4 separate regions of the Homo sapiens genome follow, and all the other regions are linked to region 1. The links are contacts of gene promoters, found by promoter capture Hi-C in blood cells and fetal thymus (Javierre and others, 2016). All regions are on one chromosome and are shown on one strand. The core of a region is centred on a gene start or on the middle of the fragment in contact, and the rest is flanking DNA. Distances in the headings are between cores, read along the strand shown.

Region 1 (4,578 bases), core at 650-3,149:
TTTTTTTCATCTATTTTTCTGTGCCACATTTAACTAACATGGTTCTTTGGAGGTTATTAGAGTGCAGCACTTTCACTTCGTCTCTCAGTAACTACACAACAGTCTCTGAGGGTAGCTATTATTATTTTGCTCATTTTACTGAGGAAGAAACAGCCTTAAAGACTGTGATCTGTCCATGATCATACAGGAAGTGACAGATACAGGCATGCAGTCCAGATATCGTGTCTTTTGTTGATCCAGCTGAGTGAAAGCAGGACTTACTGCCTGCGCCACCCCTCTGGTGTTGAAGTCATCTCTAAGTCCAGTCCCTTAGCCTGAGGTAACTGAGACCAGAAGAAAGTGATCTGGGAGAATGAGGAGCCGAGCCCCAGGGCCTGAAACCAAGTCCTTGGAGAGAATCACTGAGAATCTTACAAGACGGTGGGAATATAGACCTACCAGGGATAGCCTGTATCTTCAAAGAATTCTTTAAGTGGAGGAAAAAGAATTGTTTTAAAAATTACAATCCAGAAGGCTGAGGTGGGAGGATCACTGGAGCCTGGGAGGCAGAGGTTGCAATGAGCCGAGATCATGCCATTGCACTCCAGCTTAGGCGACAGAGCAAGACCCTGTCTCAAAAAAAAAAAAAAAAAAAAATTAAAATCCGGTATCCAAAATTCTATTCTACGCTGGTGCAGACTGTCCTGTGGGAGCCCAAAAAGAAGCAGTCACTACTGCATTGGAGGTTTGAGGCCAGCTTCTGAAAGGAAGAGATTCCCAATGGATAAGGCAACTGAGTTAGGACAGAGCACATGGGAACACATGCACAGAGGCATGGAGAGGAGCCTGTTGACTCATTTGGTGAACAAACTTGGCAGTATGCTTAGTAAGTGGGACTCTTGTTAAAGAGCCAGGCCACTGGGGCCTTGTGTGTCAGGCTCAGGGCATCGACCTATATACACAGGGCCATGGGGAAGAGCACTGTCGAGTTTTGAACAGGGAAATGATATGATTAGATTTGTATCCTGAGCAATCTTTCCATATCAAGGCAAGACTGGGCACAGGGGAATCAGGTAAGAGGGGCTGTCACAGCGGGCCAGTAGAGAGATGCCAGCTTGAGCCTCGGGAGGAAGGGCAGAGAGGAGGGAACCTATTTAAGAACATACGCTTCTGAGCACTTGTGCTGGTAGGGTTGCTGAATCATCGCAGATGCACCTGTTGCCTAGATACTACCCAGCTGCTCTCCAAAAAGGCTGCACCAATTTACGTAGGAAATGTTCTTTAGAGCACCCCAGCTATTTTTCATTCTTTCTCAGTCTTCCCATAATGCTATTGCATATTAACTGCCCTGTGAAGGAGAATCATATTCTCTGATGTGGATAAAGAAAATCAAAAGCTTCATGTTAAACTTGTGATTCCCCGTGTACTATGCATGGCTCCCCCCTGCTTTCTCTTCTACTATGCCCAGGCTCCTCAGTACATTGAAAGGTGTATCTTTCTTTATTGTTAGTCATCCCAGACTATAAATCTAGGTATACAAGAAACATTGCCTCTCTTTATTGTTTTTCTATATCAATCTAATTTCAATTCTGCACTCCGTCTTGGCAGAGTCTGGGAAATTCACCCTGAGTCATCCTCACATTTCCTGCTTCCCTGATGTCAAGAAGAGGTCTTGGGACCTTTCACGGTATCAGACATCTAGGGGCAGAGGGGTAGAGGGTCTTGTTGTCTGTAAGTTTCTGCTAAGCCATTCATTCTACCCTGTTCATTGCTGCTTCTGTGGCTGAGGAAATCTGCCAGGCAGCTGGAAGGCCTGCAGTTTCCGGTGCATCTCCCTGCACACACCAAGGGACCACTCCTCTTTGGGGAATTACCAGCTCCTCAGAGTGTTACTAGGAAGCAGGGCCCGGGGACCCACAGCTCTCTCTCTCCTCCCTCTTCTCCTTCTACCCAGGCTGTATACCTCTCCTGAGGCAATAAAGCACATAGCTGGCTTCATTTTGATAAGGTGTGGGGAGAAAGAGGGAAACACAAGGAGGGAAGATACAGGCTTCAGCCTATGGCACCTAAAGGGATAAACTGATTGTCTACTAAAAATACAAAAAAATTAGCCGGATGTGGTGGCACGTGCCTGTAGTCCCAGTTACTTGGGAGGCTGAGGCAGGAGAATCGCTTGAAGCCAGGGAGGCAGAGGTTGCAGTGAGCCCAAATTGCACCACTGCACTCCAGCTTGGGTGACAGAGCGAGACTCTGTCTTGGAAAAAATAATAATAATAAAATAAAATAAAAAGCCAACATCCAATCTAATGTTAAAATACTTAGGCCGGGCACAGAGGCTCATGCATGTAGTCCCAGCACTTTGGGAGGCCAAGGTGGGAGGATCGAGACCAGCCTGGGCAACATAGTGAAACCCGGTCTCCACAAAAAGAAAAAACCAAGCTTAAAATACTTAAGTGGGGGGTGTAGCCCAACATCATGTTTTCACAGGAAATCTCCCAGGGGACATTGCCACTTTTCCTCCTAGGATAACGACCCTTTTCTTCCTAGGCCTCTGTGGTAGGCAGAATAATTCCCCAACTACCAAAGATATCTACATCCACATCCTAACCCAGAACCTGTGTGTGTGTGAGATTACATGTCGAAGGGGAATGAAGATTGCAGATAAAATTAAGGTTGCCAATCAGCACACTTGTGACAGGGATATTCTCTTGGATTATCCAGGTAGGCCCAGTGTAATCTCAGCATCCCTATAAGTAGAAGAGGGAGGCAGAATGAACGAACCAGACAGATGGCAGTGTGAGAAGGACTTGGCCTGACGTTACCAGGTTTTAAGATGGGGGAAGGGGCCATGGGCCAAGGCATCCAGAAGTTGGAAAACGCAAGGAAATAGACTCTTCCCTAGAGCCTCTAGAAGAAACACCAAGCCTGCCAACACTTTGATTTTAGTCCAGTGAGACGCATCTCAGGCTTTTTTTTTTTTTTTTTTTGAGTCAGATTTTCACTCTTGTCACCCAGGCTAGAGTGCAATGGCAGGATCTTGGCTCACTGCAACCTCCGCGTCCTGGGTTCAAGCAATTCTCCTGCCTCAGCCTCCCCAGTAACTGGGACTACAGGTGCATGCCACCACGCCTGGCTAATTTTTTATTTTTATTTTTAGTAGAGACTAAAAATATTATTTGTTTCACCATGTTGGCCAGGCTGGTCTCGAACTTCTGACCTCAGGTGATCCGCCCGCCTCAGCCTCCCAAAGTGCTGGGATTACAGGCTTGAGCCACTGCACCCAGCCCGCATCTCAGACTTCTGACTTCTAGAACTATAAGGTAATAAATTTGTATTGTTTGAAGCCACTAAATTTGTCATAATTTTTTATAGCAGCAGTAGGAAATAAATACAAGCTACAAAAGGAAATCATGGTTTTTAATTTCTTCTTATGATTTTCAGTGTAACTGTTTCCATTCTGGGGCTTGAAGGTAGCCCTGAGCATGGCTGGTATCCTGTTTTCTCCCACACCTTAGGGTGGTGGAGGATGGGGTTAGGACACATGGTCTGCCTCTGGCCCTGGCCTCGTGGGCTTGTAGAAATCCATGTCTCCCCTTTCCCTCTAAGCCATGTAAAAGCCAAGTCTTGACTAGAGATGAGTGTTGACAGCTGCTGGATCTACAAATAGGTCCTCCTTCCAGGCCTGTGGCGGGATTGCACGTCCCAGGGAATCTCTTTAGAGTTAGGTGTGGACATGTGGCTTGCCTTTGCCAATGAAGCTTTAAGACACAGTGTACAATTCATCTCGTTCTCATCCCACTGCTGCAGTGAGCATGAAAGAATGTGCCAAGATGGGGCCACTGTCAGCGCCTGGGTCCCTGGATGACTACAGTAAGCCAAGCCTTCGCTAACCTGTGTTGTACATTTAATGTGAATAAAAAATAAAGTTCTGTTTGATTAACGCTCTGAGGTTTGGTACTTTTTGTTTCACAGCATAGCCTAGTCTGGCTTGGCCTGACAAATCTGGGTCTTTTTTTTTTTAAGAACCAGGGTCTCAGTCTGTCACCCAGGCTAGAGTACAGCGGCACAATCATGGCTCGCTATAGTTTCGAACTCCTGGGCTCAAGTGATTCTCCTGCCTCAGCCTCCCAAGTAGCTGAGACTACAAGCACACACCACCACACCTGGCTAATTTAAATTTTTTTTTCTTATAAAGATGGGCTCCCACTGTGTTGCCCTGGCTGGTCTCAAATTCCTGGGCTCAAGTGATCCTCCCGTCTCAGCCTCCCGAGTACCTGGGACTACAGGCGTGTGCCACCACACCGGGCTCTGGGTCTTACCAGATTCTCTGTCTCCTAGTCAGCCTCTTCACTCATGTGGCCACGAGAGGCAGGGCCTGAGCTTTCCTCATTTCAGACACAAACATGTGCAACGCAGACTCTGGCCCCAGCCTCACAATAAAAAGTGAGAAAAAAAAATCTGCCTTGTTTCTCTCCCCAGGGAGCTGGGAGGCTGAGGGAGCTAGGCCCTGCACAGGACCCACTAGAGAAAGAAAGGAGCATTCCTTTATGGAAGTGCCAACCTCAAAAGGGTGGAAGTAAATCCTTCATGAGGCCTCAT
Region 2 (4,578 bases), core at 567-3,066, 570 kb after region 1:
GAGATCCTTTACTTAATATAAGCGGATCATCCTTTGTCTGCCCATCCCTAGCCAGTCTACCTTTCTAAACACTTCCATCACACAGTCTGAATTGGCGATAAATGCCTAAAAATGCTCCACTGTTTCTTATCGCAAGGACTTTGTGTATTCTTTCTTTCTTTCGCTCTCTCTCTCTCTCTCTTTTCTTTTCCTTTTCTTTCTTTCTTTTTTTGATGGAGTCTTGCTCTGTTGCCCAGGATGGAGTGCAGTGGCATGATCTCAGCTCACTGCAACCTCTGCCTCCCGGGTTCAAGCGATTCTCCTGCCTCAGCCTCCTGAGTAGCTGGGATTACAGGCGTGTGCCACCATGCCCAGCTAATTTTTGTATTTTTAATAGAGACAGGGTTTCACCATGTTGGCCAGGCTGATCTCGAACTCTTGACCTCAAGTGATCTGCCTGCCTCGGCCTCCCAAAGTGCTGGGATTACAGGTGTGAGCCACCGCGCCCGGCCTGCATATGCTGTTTCTTATTCCAGAAATTACCTTTCCCTATTTCCACTCCTATTTGTCCTTTATGTCTTTTCATGTCTGTTAAACTCAGATGTTTCCTCCTCCAGGGGAACCTCCCCTAATTTTTCCAGTTATACATTTCCTATGTGCTGCTTTGAACATTTACTTATTTTGTATTTGTCGCATTATATTAGTTTTGTTTACTTGTCTCCCTTGCTAGAATGTTAACTCCTTGAGGGCAGGGACTCTTATTTAACTCCAGGATTTTAGTGTTTAGCATGGTGCTTGGCACGTATTTGCTTAGTGGATATTGGTTAAATTGAATTAAACAGCAATTGTGAAATTGTAGGGCCTCATACTCTGTTGAAAGAATTTCAGGCATCAGTGATATGGGAAATATTTTTTGAGTAGAGGAGGGCAGGGGAAAGGTGGAGAAAGGATGACCTGAAATCATCACCCAGTCTACCCTTTAATGTGGAGCATATGTAAATTAGTCATATAAATATTAATATTTCTATAGATATTCTCATGTAAACATTTATTCTATCTCCATTATGGGTTGCAAGCAACCTCAGAGCAGTGCCAAGTATGGAGTTCTGCGGAGTAGAAATAGAAGGTATGAAATAAGTACCCTCAATTTGCTGATAAATGTAAGATTGAGTACACCTGGAGTGTGGCAACAAGGAGTAAGATATGCCCAATTTTCCTGAAAAGTAAGAGAGAAATGTCTTTCTTTACCCCATCCTAGTTGCTTGCTGCTTTCCTGGCGCCATACGTAGTGCTGAGTGCGCCATTGTGTGTGGCGTGAACTGAAACCATCAGTGGCACAGGTGGGACGGCTACGTTATAGGTTCTCAGTACTATTGTTGGAACCCCACCCTCCATAGACCACCCTTCTATTTTCGCGGAAAACCAGGACTTATTCAGGTCACTGGGCTTCGGCCTATCACTGTAGGAGCCTGGCTCACGGGGCAGTGCCCACTGTTGATTGATACACGGTACGAGACAATTTCTTGGGTTGAGGAGCCGCGATTGGCGGAGCCAGCCTGTGCTGCTAGGCAGGGTATTGGGTACTGCGTATTGGGGATGCAGGTTCCCGGGTGGCCACAAACATCACCCGGAAGCCTGAATATGGCCTCCACTCTACAGGGCGCGCAGCAGTCAGCACGGCCGCTATTCAGAGCCCGGGGCCCAGGCCCGTGCGGCGTGCGCGTGCGTGCGTGGGCGCGCGTGCGCGCCGCCGCCGCCTGTGGGTTGGCTAGTTATTTTGCAAGCGGGAGGGGCCGTGCGCGCTCCTGCCTCAGGCCTCTGTCCCCCACCCCCTTTCCCCGGTCCCAGGCTCTCCTTCGGAAAGATGTCGGACACGGCAGTAGCTGATACCCGGCGCCTTAACTCGAAGCCGCAGGACCTGACCGACGCTTACGGGCCGCCAAGTAACTTCCTGGAGATCGACATCTTTAATCCTCAGACGGTGGGCGTGGGACGCGCGCGCTTCACCACCTATGAGGTTCGCATGCGGGTGAGTCACGGGGTGAGGGAGACAGCTGAGGGAGGACCGGGCGGCGCGAGCGGGAGGGGGGAGGGAGGCTACCGCGGGGGCAACTAACGGCGGGGAAGACGCCTTAGGGGTCATTTGGGGGTTAGGGGTATAATAGGCTTGGAACGAGGTCTGCCGATTCAGTTGTGGCCGGAGGATGCAGAAAACTCCTGAGGGAGACATCGGACGGGGATGCAGGAAAGCTACCCATGAGGAAGTGAAGCATGGCTGGATAGGGTGGGGTGGATGGAAAAAGATTAGAGTGAGGAATTCAAGGAGATAGGAATCACGGCTGTAGCGACTGAAGGAAGGGAGGGAGGATGGAAGAGGGCTGGGGGATGGAAAGCCAAGGCGATATATCGCTGAGCTCCATAACTAAACTAGGTTGTGAGAAGTCTGAAGAGGGAGGGCAGGAAGGCCGGCTGCTTTCTAATGAGGTCTCCCTGGGATAATGGAGTAAAGCAAAGCCTTGAATTAAAGGGAAGGTAGATTCCAGAAAAGGCAGACAGTAGGCTTGTGGGAGCAGAAATAAGAAAGGGAGTCTCCTTGAGACCGAGCGCTTTCCTAACTTGTGTCGGATCAGCATCTGAAGGAGAGAAATGTTTTATGCTTAAGTTTTCGCAGATACTACGTGCTGTCTCGCCTTGAAACCTGGCCTGGCCCTGGGATTGGTGCCTTGTCAGTCACTGCTTTCATTCTATGTGGATCCTTTAGATTTGAAGTATCCAGAATGTTTATTTCAGTATTTATTGACTCTCGTTTAGGTACTTTGTATATGAATGGCTTTTTGCCCTTTCTGTCCTAGATTACCCTTTTGGATTCTGACCCTGGTCTGTAGTTACTTTAATACATGACATTTCAGAATTGCCCAGGAGTGGCTTCTTCCAGCATGCATGATAGAGGACTTTACTCTCTAGTGCTTAGCCCATAATGCAAGGATGGAATGTGCAGATAGAGTACTTGGTTTGCAGGATCTTTTGCCCACTTGAAGTGGTTATAGGCAAAACAGTTTGAGAATCATTTTCTAGTTTTCCTTATGTTTTCTTCTCAGACTAAAAGGCCAGAATATTCTCTGTGGACAGCATCCTGCTCAAACAGCATTGAAGAACTAAAAGAGTGTATGTGCTTTCATTGTTGAAGGAGTGAATTGAATGAGAAATTGTGGTCTCCTACTTGGGCTTTGAAATCTTATTGAGAAATTATGATTTCCAGATTCCAAGTTTGGCAAAGTCCAAACTGAAGAAAGAAAAGTGAATAGCAAAACATGAGAAACACTTGTCTATATAAGAACTATGTGAAATCATGTCTTTGGGGGAGAATGGAATTTAGGTCCTTCAGAATATGATAAAAGCAGGAAATTGTCAGTGCTGGAGAACTTAGTTACCTGAGGGAGCTTGGGCATGACTAGTACAGCATAAGGGCTGTCTGCTGTGGGGTTTTGGAGACATTCAATGCATTACCCAAGAGTCTTAGGGATTCTGAATGAAATCGCTCTTTACTCAGGGTATTCTTTTTTTTTTTTTTTTTTTTTTAAGAGATGGAGTCTCGTTCTATTGCCCAGGCTGCCGTGCAATGGTGCAATCTCGGCTCGCTGCAACCTCCGCCTCCTGGGTTCAAGCAATTCTCCTGCCTCATCCTCCCGAGTAGCTGGGATTACAGGCACATGCCACCATGCCTGGCTAATTTTTGTATTTTTAATAGAGACGGGGTTTCGCCATGTTGGCCAGGCTGGTCTTGAACTGCTGACCGCAAGTGATCCTCCTGCCTCGGCCTCCCAAAGGGCTGGGATTAGAGGCGTGAGCCACCACGCCTGGCCCTACTCCAGGTATTCTAATAGCAACAGGGACTGTTCATCTAGTGCCTACTGTGTACCAGGCACTGAACTAGGTTTTAATTTGTGTTAATCCTTACAGAACTTCGTTTTACACATGGGAAACTGAGGAGGAATGCAGTTTAAGTAACTTGCCCAAGTACACGTAACTATAACTGACAGGGCTGGAATTTGAACACAAATATGTCTGACTCCATATTCTTTCTGCTACACTTCTGTCTCCTTGACAACACTTAGTAGCAAAACTTTAGCATGCAAAATTTTTCTACTCACTAAACTTTTAATCGGTCCCTTCCACAATTTTTTTTTTTTTCGAGACAGAGTCTCGCTCTGTCACCCAGGCTGGAGTGCAGTGGCATGATCTCAGCTCACTGCAACCTATGCCTCCCAGGTTCAGGCGATTCTCCTGCCTCAGCCTCTGGAGTAGCTGGGACTACAGGCATAAGGCATGGTGCCACCACACCTGGCTAATTTTTTTTTTTTTTTTTGAGATAGAGTTTTGCTCTTGTAGCCCAGGCTGGAGTGCAGTGGCATGATCTCGGCTCACTGCAACCTCTGCCTCCCGGGTTCAAGTGATTCTTCTGCCTCAGCCTCCCAAGTAGCTGGGATTACAGGCATGTACCACCACGCCTGGCTAATTTTTGTATTTTTAGTAGAGACAGGTTTCGCCATGTTGGCCAGGCTGGTCTCGAACTCCTGACCTCAAGTGATCCGCTTGCCT
Region 3 (4,578 bases), core at 636-3,135, 540 kb after region 1:
GAAGGCCAAGAGAACTCCCAACTTTGTGCTCTAAAGTCAGAGCCCTACCTCCTTCTTCATGACTAATATTCCTTAACAGTAAAGGATGACTTCCCCCCAAAACTTGGATAGCCCCTTACAAGGGAGAGTTTCTTGGCAGCACAGGGTAAGCTGAGCCAAGTGGCAGCTCACAGCCCTTTTTCTTCTTAGTGCATGAGATCAGCTACCTTTCCCCATGAATATTATTGTTTTTACCCTTTGCCACTGCACTCCCTCCTCCTGGGTAGAGCAGTGCTAGAACAGTACCACTACACTGAGGTACTGGGAGGCAAGCAGGGAATCCAAGTAATCCCACAGGAATGGGAGAAAAGGTGTTGGGGTGGGAGGTGGGGGAGGAGGGAAGGGTAGGTTCATGTGGGGAATCCACACAGTTCCTGCTGTACATAGGATAAAGACTTCTCTGTGGGAATAAGTGTTTGGGGCAGCCCAAGCCAAAGTGCTGCGAATATTGAGCAGTGAGCAGAGAATTCAATTTTCTCCAGGGCAGGGACAGTGTCTTATTCATCTGTGATCCTTCAGCATCAAGCACCGAGTGTGGCATATACTATGTACTAAGTAAATGTTTGTCTAACTGGAGATTGAAGGTGGATCTCTGGGCTTCCCAAAGGGGGTGGGGGTGGGAGGTAGTAAAAGGGGCCCCAGAGTAGAAGTAAGGGAGGCTAGGGGGTCCAGGGGGTAGATGGTGTTGGGAAGAAGGTAAGAGGGTCATAATTACCTTCCATCCTGCTGAGCTGTTGCTGTCACCCTTGTCCTTGAAGTAGGGTACAGTACGGACCATCCACTCGTAGATCTGGGCAAGTGTCAGTCGCTTCTCCGGGGCGCTTTCAATGGCCTGGCTGATGAGTTCTGCATATGACTGATTTCCCCAGGCATTCCGGCGGGAGCCTCCCTTCCGAGGACCTGTTACAGCCCCCAGGATTCCGGGCTGGGGGCCCCCGGCCGGCTCTGGGAGCCGAGAGGGCAACAGGATCGGCTCTGAGCGCCCCTCCGTGTGTACCTTTTCCCCCAGATCTGGCTCCACCTCGGGCGGCTCGGACGGCTGGTTAGCGATCTCTGGTCGGGGAAGGGGCCAGGTGCAGGAGCGGGGACGGCTCTGGGGTTCGAAGTCGGGATCTAGGTCTATGATCGCGGCAGCCTCTGTGGCTGAATTCTCATTCCCCGGATCCATACGTGGAGTTGGACCTCCCCGGCTCAGCGTTCAGTGAAGCCTGCCACAGTCCCTCACGATGCCTCCCCTCAGGGGGGAAGCATCGAGGGCCAGGAGGCACATTCCTGCCAGTCTTCAGAAAGTCGCGAACTTCCCCCTAGTCCCAGGACGCTAGTCCCTAAGCTGTCCCTTCACACAGTTCTCCGATCCCCTTCCCGACTACAGCCTGTAGCCTCAAAGCTCTTTCTGAGATGCCACCTGTAACCTCTGCCGAGCGAAGACACTTTTTCTGCAACCTCTCACTCAGCTTCCTGCTCTTTTAAACCTGAGGCACTGTATCCCCTCATATATTGCGCTCCCATCACCGAACGTCTCCTTAGCCGCAGTTCCCTCCCCCTTTTAAGTTGCTGCCCCCCGGACACTCCTCCCAAATTTCCTCCACCCGGATTGCTGCCCTCCCCCACGCCCCGCTCCCCCGCGTCACTTGCCCCTCCCCTGACTCCCCCTTCCCCCGCCTCTTCCCTTCTCGCCACTCTTACTAGGGTCCGGGTCCCCGCGGCTGCGGCCTCCCTTATTCCCGCACCGATTCCCCTATCAACCCCCCCCACCCCCCGCCCCCCGGGTTTCCCTTTTGTTTTGCTCCAAGCAGCAGCCCCCTCCTGACGTCTCTGTTTACCACTCGCCGGGGCAGCCATCTGCGCACGCGCCTCGAAAGCCAGTCGGGAAACCGAGTTCTGCAGTCGTGCCACCCTGGTCACTCTTGAGGACTACATCTCCCGTCCTGCTTCGCGGCCAGGAGCCCGATACGGCGGCAGGAGAGCGGCGTGGCAGGATATAACGAGGTGGAACTTTAATTATTAGAAGTCGTCGCGGACTCTTTCTTTTCTTAAGAATCGTTTTTCGCCCTTTCCCCCTTTCCATTGTCTCCCTTGTGATTCAGAGTCGTGTAGGTGACCAGATTGAGAGGTGCTAGCCCTTTCCCTCCTTCATTTAGGAGACGGCAAAAGGGAAAAAATTATTCTCTTAAAGATGCAGGAGACCAAGAAGCAAGAAGCAAGGAACTGACTAGAAAATAGGATGTATGCACGTTGGAGAGTTGGGTGGGGGGCTTGTGTAACATAAACAAATGGTTAGCCCACGGTGGTGTTCCTCCTCACCCCCTTCCTCCTCCCTCCACCCGCCTTCATCCCCCCATATGCAGTTCCCACTGACAGTGAGGTCTCACTTACCAATCAGTTTCCTCCACTGGCTCTTCTGGCTTTCCCTTCAACACCGATATTCTCCAGGTTCACATCTCCAACGGCTTCACTTCTCATTCAACAGGTCCAAACTCATTATCTGTTCCTGCACCCGCACCCCTATCCTCTGGCTACCCTTATCTCTGAATTTGACTTATGGTAGTCCTGATCTACCCAGTCTCCCAAGCTCCAAGCAGCAGCTTAGAGGTAATTACCCATTACTTCTTCATCTCCGTAACTTTCTACATCCAAATCCCAGTTCAAGACCTATTTATAACTGCATTTAAATTGTAGGATCAGCCGGGTGCAGTGGCTGACGCCTGTAATATCAGCACTTTGGGAGGTCGAGGCAGGCGGATCACTTGAGGTCAGGAGTTTGAGACCAGCCTGGCCAACATGGTGAAACCCATCTCTGCTAAAAATAGAAAAATTAGCCTGGTGTGGGGCACGCACCTGTAGTCCCAGCTACTTGGGAGGCTGAGGTGGGAGAGTCGCTTGAACCCAAGAGGTGGAGGTTGCAGTGAGCCAAGATCATGCCACTGTGCTCCAGCCTGGGTGACAGAATAACACCCTGTCAAAAAAAAAAAAAGGTGCAGTATCATCTTAATTGGATCTCCTTCCATCAGTCTTTACCTCACTACAGTTTATATTCAGAGCTGCCAGCAAGGTTACCGTTCTAAGAAACATGTCTGGTAATTATGGCTAAAATTTATGGAGCCCTTATTATGTGCCAGTCTCTGTGCAAATTGCTTTACGAACATTAGTTCATTTACTCCTCAATCATTTACTCCTCAATTCAACCCCATGAGGTAGGTACCACTATTATCCGCATTTTATAGATGAAGACACTAACAATGCTCAGAGATTGACTTGCCCAACGAGGCAGAACTGGGATTATATAACTTACATGCGATCGTATAATTTCTTTCTTTCTTTCCTTCCTTCTTTCTTTCTTTCCTTCCTTCCTTCCTTCTTTCTTTCTCCTTCCTTCTTTCTTTCTTTCTTTCTTTCTTTCTTTCTTTCTTTCTTTTTCTTTCTTTCTTTCTTTCTTTCTTTCTCCTTCCTTCCTTCCTTCCTTCCTTCCTTCCTTCCTTCCTTCCTTCCTTCCTTCTTTCCTTCTTTTTTGAGACAGGGTCTTGCTCTGTCACTCAGACTGGAATGCAGTGGTGTGATCTTGGCTCACTGCAGCCTTGACCTGCTGCACTCAAGCAATCCTCCCATCTCAGCCTCGGGAGTAGCTGGGACTACAGGCATGTGCCACCACGCCCAGCTAATTTTTGTATTTTCTGTAGAGACGGGGTTTCACCGTGTTGCTCAGGCTGGTCTGGAACTCCTGACTTCAAGTGATCCACCTGCCTTGGCCTCTGAAAGTGCTGGGATTACAGGCATGAGCCACCGCACCTGGCTATAAATTTTGTTTTTTTGATCATGTAATTTCCCTGGTTAAATCTTCCTCTGATTTTCCCCATTGCCTGTGTGATAAAGTTCAAATTCCCTCGCAAGGCATGCCAGGCTCCTCAGATTCAGGCCACTTCACACCTTTCCTGCACACTAAGTTACAAGCAGAGTTTCACACTATTTCCTGGAAATACCATGCCCTTTTATACCTTTCTCTCTGCATCCTGGGATATCATCCCTCTTGTCATTCCTCTCCACGTCTCTTATTTTGGAAAACTCCTATTCAGCCTTCCCTGTCTCCCTTAGGTGTGATTAGTTCTCCTTTTTTTTCTGCATTCCTAAGCACTTTGTGCAGTCTTATGTTATATAGCACAAACTATATTGTATTGTAATTATTTGTTTACTTATCTGTCTCTCCCAGTAAACTGTGAGCTCTTATTTATTTTTTTTTTAGACAGGGTCTCGCTCTGTCACCCAGGCTGGAGTGCAATGGCACAATCTCGGCTCACTGCAACCTCCACCTCCCAGGTTCAGACGATTCTCCTGCCTCAGCCTCCCGAGTAGCTGGGATTACAGGTGCCTGCCACCATTCCCAGCTAATATTTGTATTTTTAGTAGAGATGGGTTTTCACCATGTTGGTCAGGCTGGTCTTGAACTCCTGGCCTCTGGTGATCCACCCGCCTTGGCCTCCCAAAGTGTTGGGATTACAGGTGTGAGCCACAGTGCTCGGCAAATATCATTTATTAAATGAAGTA
Region 4 (4,578 bases), core at 1,284-3,783, 520 kb after region 1:
CTCGGTGTAATCCCACTGCCGGATTGCCACCTCTACATCATGGGGCAAGGGCCCTATCGTGGAACCACAGCCCCCACTTCCTGCAGGCCCTGGCCGGTAGTATTCAGCCATCTTCTGTAACTGCTCCCATAAGTACTTGGTGATGATCTGAGTCCATTCTGGAGGAAAGAGGGAAAAAGGGCTATTTGATACTATCCTTCTGCTTAGAATATCCTTCTACTGGCTGGGTGCGGTGGCTCATGCCTGTAATCCCAGCACTTTGGGAGGCTGAGGCAGGTGGATCACGAGGTCAGGAGTTCGAGACCAGCCTGGCCAAGATGGTGAAACCCCGTCTCTAGAAAAATACAAAAATTAGCCGGGCGCAGTGGTGGGCGCCTGTAATCCCAGCTACTCGGGAGGCTGAGACAGGAGAATCACTTTAACCCGGGAGGTGGAGGTTGCAGTAAGCCAAGATCCTGCCACTGCACTCTAGCCTGGGTGACAGAGTCTTGCTCTGTCTCAAAAAAAAAAAAATCCTTCTACTTAGAATACCTTACCCCCACCCCTAATCACCATATTTGTAAATTCAGTTCATCCTTTTAGTCTCTAGTCAAATCCCACCTTCCTAAAGCCTTTCCGGGTACCCCCATAAGAAAGTAATCTTTTGTCCACTCAAAGAACCTTCTGCTCCTAGCTTGACATTCACCACTTTCTATATTTAATTATGTTATTTGTACATATACCTTAGCAGCCCTGTTAGACTACTAGTATCCTAGGGGCAGAGATTATGCACCGGACATCTTTGTAGCCCAGTATATGCGCACAGTAGACACTCAAATTTCTCAGTGTTTACTGATCAAACAAATGCAAGAAACAAGCAGAAACAAGGAATCTAGATTAAGAAGGAGGATGGTTCCAAGGGTGTCTCTATCACTCCTTGAAGCCATCAGCAGTACACCTGGTGTTAGGAGTTACTCACCCATGAAAGGGTCAACATGTCTCTTCTTAACCTTGGTCTCAGAGATTGCTGCATAGTAGGCACAGGTCATCTTAATGAGCCAGGCAGCCCGCATCACAGGCACTGTGTATTTGGCTAAGTACCCAAACACCTCTTCCTTCTTACTGAAAATGGGGACCTGGATGGACATTGCAAATAGTGAGGTCTCTATTATCCCCATGAGCTGACACCCATGTAGCTTAATATGGGAATAGGAGGGTACTTGGTACCCCATGCTCCCTCCTTGGCCTGAAGGACAGGAAACAGTACCTTACCTTTTTGGCTAGTTGCGTGAGTGGCTTGGTGCCAGCCAAGTCAGTGAACCAAGTGTTAATGGCACTCTGGGATCGTGCAGTCACCAGCCAGAAGTTATCCTTCTGGTTCACTTGGGGCTTCCTGCGACCAGTGTCAGGAAGGGTATTACAACGTAATTTCTCTGCAATAATGCTGCTGAAGTTGGAACTGATCTGAGGGAAGAAAAGTGTACCTCAGGGTGGGAAGAAGGGGCAGACAGGTGGTCCTGCCTTTTGCTGGGCAAATGCCAATGAGATAGTATTAGGTCATGAAGGCAAACTCAGCCACTTAGGTTGTCCCTATAAGTCTTCCCAACCCAGGGCCTTTGCTCCTTCTTAGATTCTTCCAGCCTTTTCCTTCAGCCTGGCAGAGTTGTCTCACCTTGGCAGGATTGAAGCTGACGTTCTTGGCACTGCCATGCTCATCCCCAGAGACAGCAGGCTGGTTATTGAAACCTTGTTTTACATTCAAGGCCGTCAGTTCATCCTGAGGCAGGAAAGCGGCGTTTAGTTGTTTTTTCCTTAGGGGAAGGGGGAAGGGGTGGGAGAGTAGGGCAGGAGAAAAGAAGGAACAAGGTGAAAGGGCAGGAGGAGGGTTCCGTGTAGAACAGATCGTTACTTAAAGCTGGGCCCTTACGTTCACTTGGACCCCACCCTCACTCCCATGGTCACTAGGATTCCCAGCCACCCAGCGCGCCCTCAAACATCACTCTTCTCTTGCGAACAGCCGAGCAGCCGTACCCCACCAAGCTGTCTCAGACAACTTTCTGAGGTGTGTGTGGAGGAGGGCGCCTCTGGTGCGGCCCCTACACCACCCCCTATTCATACCTTGGAACCCCCCACCGCCCCCCGTCCTGCCCTCCCACGCCAGCCCACTTTACTCTTCCCCCTTTCGGGACTTTTGCTCTCACCGAACCGCCCCGCCCCCCATTCCCAGCCGTCAGTGCCTCCTCCTAGGCTGACCGCGTGCCCCCGGCCCCTCCAGAGCCCCGATTTTCGAACGCACCTCCTTCTGTTTGGGGTCCTGAGGGTAAACATCGGGAGGCCCCAGCCGCGGCCGCTTCAGGGGCCGGTGTTCGTAGCTCAAGATCCCGAAGGCCGCCATCTTGCCCAGCCCGTAGCGCCGGAGGCACCAGCAGGGCCAGGCTGACTGGGGGAACGGGAAGGGGGAGAGGGAGCCGAAAAGGGGGGCGGTGGTTGAGAGGACGGCGGCCGAGAGACAACAAGGGGGCACGTTAGAAACTCTCGACCATTGCCGGAAACTACCGAGGGAAGCCGAGGTACGCCGGGAACCATCGGACAATACCGACTGCAGAGGAGGTGGGGCCTGGCCCGGTGGGGGCGGAGCTCTGTGCCCCGGGAGTTTTTCGGCGGTGGCGGCAGCAAGTCGATTTCACTCAGCAAAAATCTATGAAACGTTCCGGAGGCGCAGAATGAGCTGGGGATGCAAACCAGGGAAGAAGGAGGCCTCTGTGGTGCTGAGTTCTGACTGGACTTCGGTTCCCATAGCCTAGCTCGGTTTTGGCCTAGAAAAGTCTTCAATAATATTTGCATTGGTTAGGAACTCCGTCTATTACAGATCAGTTCGTTTCTTAGTTCCGGCATCTGAAAAATAGGTGCGCTAACACCTCCTTCAAGGGGCTATTGTGAACATTAGAAACTATGTATGCATGAGAAAGAACCTATTAAACCCTGAAAGGCTGGCTCTAATCCCTCAAGGTCTACCATCGAGTTGTCTAACCTTTTCTTGTTTGTTTTTCTGCCCAAGGGTACCGCATACTAACGTTTTTGATTCACAAACCCTTAAAGGTGCTGATGAAAGCTATGGACCTTCTTCCCAGAAATAATAATAATAATAATAATAATATGCATATATTGACATGCAAAATGTTGCTTTAGATTCTTAGATCCCCTGAAGTTCATCCATGTATCCCCTAAGGGTCCATGAACTCCAGGTTAAGAACCCTTGGTCTAGCTAAAGAGGCACCTATTGTGTCAGATGCTTTTCAGACACTATCTCCTTTAATCTGCTCACAGCCTCATGAGTTAGGGATTATTATTGGCTCGATTTTGCGGATGGAGGAAGCTGGTTTTCAAAGTGTGAAAATTCACTTATCCAATATTATACAGCTACTGAGTAACAGAGCTGGCACTAAGATTCTGAATTCCAGAGCCAATATCCTATTGTCGTATTGCTATTTGTTTATTTTGAGGCAGGTTCTCCCTCTGTCGCCTAGGCTGGAGTGCAGTGGCGCTATCACGGCTCACTGCAGCATCAACCTTCTGGACTCCAGCGATCCTCCCGCCTCAGCCTCCCAGTAGCCTGGACTACAGGCGTGCGCCACTGTGCCGGCCTTGTATTGCCTTTTAGAGAAAAGACAGCCAGTGTGCTGTAACAAAAGTAACAAATAACAATAAACAAAAATAACACCAGTAACAAAAATAACAAAATGCTATTGAATCACAATGGAAAGAAGAAGTAATTCAAGGCGGGGAGTGGTGGCTCACGTCCGTAATCCCAGCACTTTGGGAGGCCAAGGCAGGGAATCACCTGAGGTCAGGAGTTCAAGACCAGCCTGGCCAACGTGGTGAAATCCCATCTCTACTAAAAATACAAAAATTAGCTTGTGTGGTGGCAGGCGCCTGTAATGCCAGCTGCTCAGGAGGCTGAGGTAACATTTGAACTAACTCTGAAGGATATTTTTATTTTATTTTATTTTTTATTTTATTTATTGTTTTGAGACGGAGTCTCACTCTTGTTGCCCAGGCTGGAGTGCAGTGGCGTGATCTCGGTTCACTGCAACCTCCGCCTCCCAGGTTCAAGTGATTCTCTTGCCTCAGCCTCCCCAGTAGCTGGGATTACAGGCTTGCGCCATCATGCCTAGCTAATTTCTGTATTTTTAGTAGAGACGGGGTTTCTCCATGTTGGCCAGGCTGGTGTCAAACTCGTGACCTCAAGTGATCCGCCCACCTCGGCCTCCCAAAGTGCTGGGATTACAGGCGTGAGCCACCACGCTCAGCCTGAACGATATTTTATTTATTTATTTATTTATTTATTTATTTATTTATTTATTTTGAGACTGAGTTTCGCTCTTGTTGCCCAGGCTGGAGTGCAATGGCGCAATCTCGGCTTACTGCAACCTCTGCCTCCCTGGTTCAAGCGATTCTCCTGCCTCAGCCTCCCGAGTAGCTGGGATTACAGGCATGCACCACCATGCCCAGCTAAATATTTTTTTGTTGTTGTATTTTTAGTAGAGACGGGGTTTCTCTATGTTGGTCAGGCTGGTCTCGAACTCCCGACCTCAGGTG

The links. Contacts are between HindIII fragments. The CHiCAGO score rates a contact against its expected background, and 5 or more counts as called.
Region 2: a contact is called between the fragment with the promoter of SNX12 here and a fragment that was not itself captured in region 1, in 1 of 17 cell types (total B cells). The highest score is 7.1, in total B cells.
Region 3: a contact is called between the fragment with the promoter of FOXO4 here and a fragment that was not itself captured in region 1, in 1 of 17 cell types (fetal thymus). The highest score is 6.3, in fetal thymus.
Region 4: a contact is called between the fragment with the promoter of MED12 here and a fragment that was not itself captured in region 1, in 3 of 17 cell types (naive CD8 T cells, total B cells and non-activated CD4 T cells). The highest score is 5.8, in naive CD8 T cells.

What each region holds. Positions count from the first base shown.
Region 1 is chrX:71,633,687-71,638,264 of GRCh38, reverse strand. No RefSeq gene overlaps it. Among named protein-coding and RNA genes, the nearest start is that of CXCR3, 17 kb to the right of the region's middle. The HindIII fragment of the contact is 1,043 bases long and covers 1,378-2,420 here.
Region 2 is chrX:71,065,572-71,070,149 of GRCh38, reverse strand. SNX12 (sorting nexin 12) reads left to right here and starts at 1,816. Exons shown (of 4, transcript NM_013346.4): 1 at 1,816-2,008. The coding sequence starts at 1,844. RefSeq lists silencers at 1,601-1,820, 1,660-1,853. The HindIII fragment of the contact is 9,631 bases long and covers 1-4,578 here.
Region 3 is chrX:71,093,158-71,097,735 of GRCh38, reverse strand. It overlaps FOXO4 (forkhead box O4), which reads right to left and starts at 1,885. Exons shown (of 3, transcript NM_005938.4): 1 at 755-1,885. The coding sequence starts at 1,207. The HindIII fragment of the contact is 17,633 bases long and covers 1-4,578 here.
Region 4 is chrX:71,116,551-71,121,128 of GRCh38, reverse strand. It overlaps MED12 (mediator complex subunit 12), which reads right to left and starts at 2,533. Exons shown (of 45, transcript NM_005120.3): 1 at 2,276-2,533; 2 at 1,652-1,756; 3 at 1,252-1,443; 4 at 959-1,115; 5 at 1-158. The coding sequence starts at 2,374. The HindIII fragment of the contact is 19,646 bases long and covers 1-4,578 here.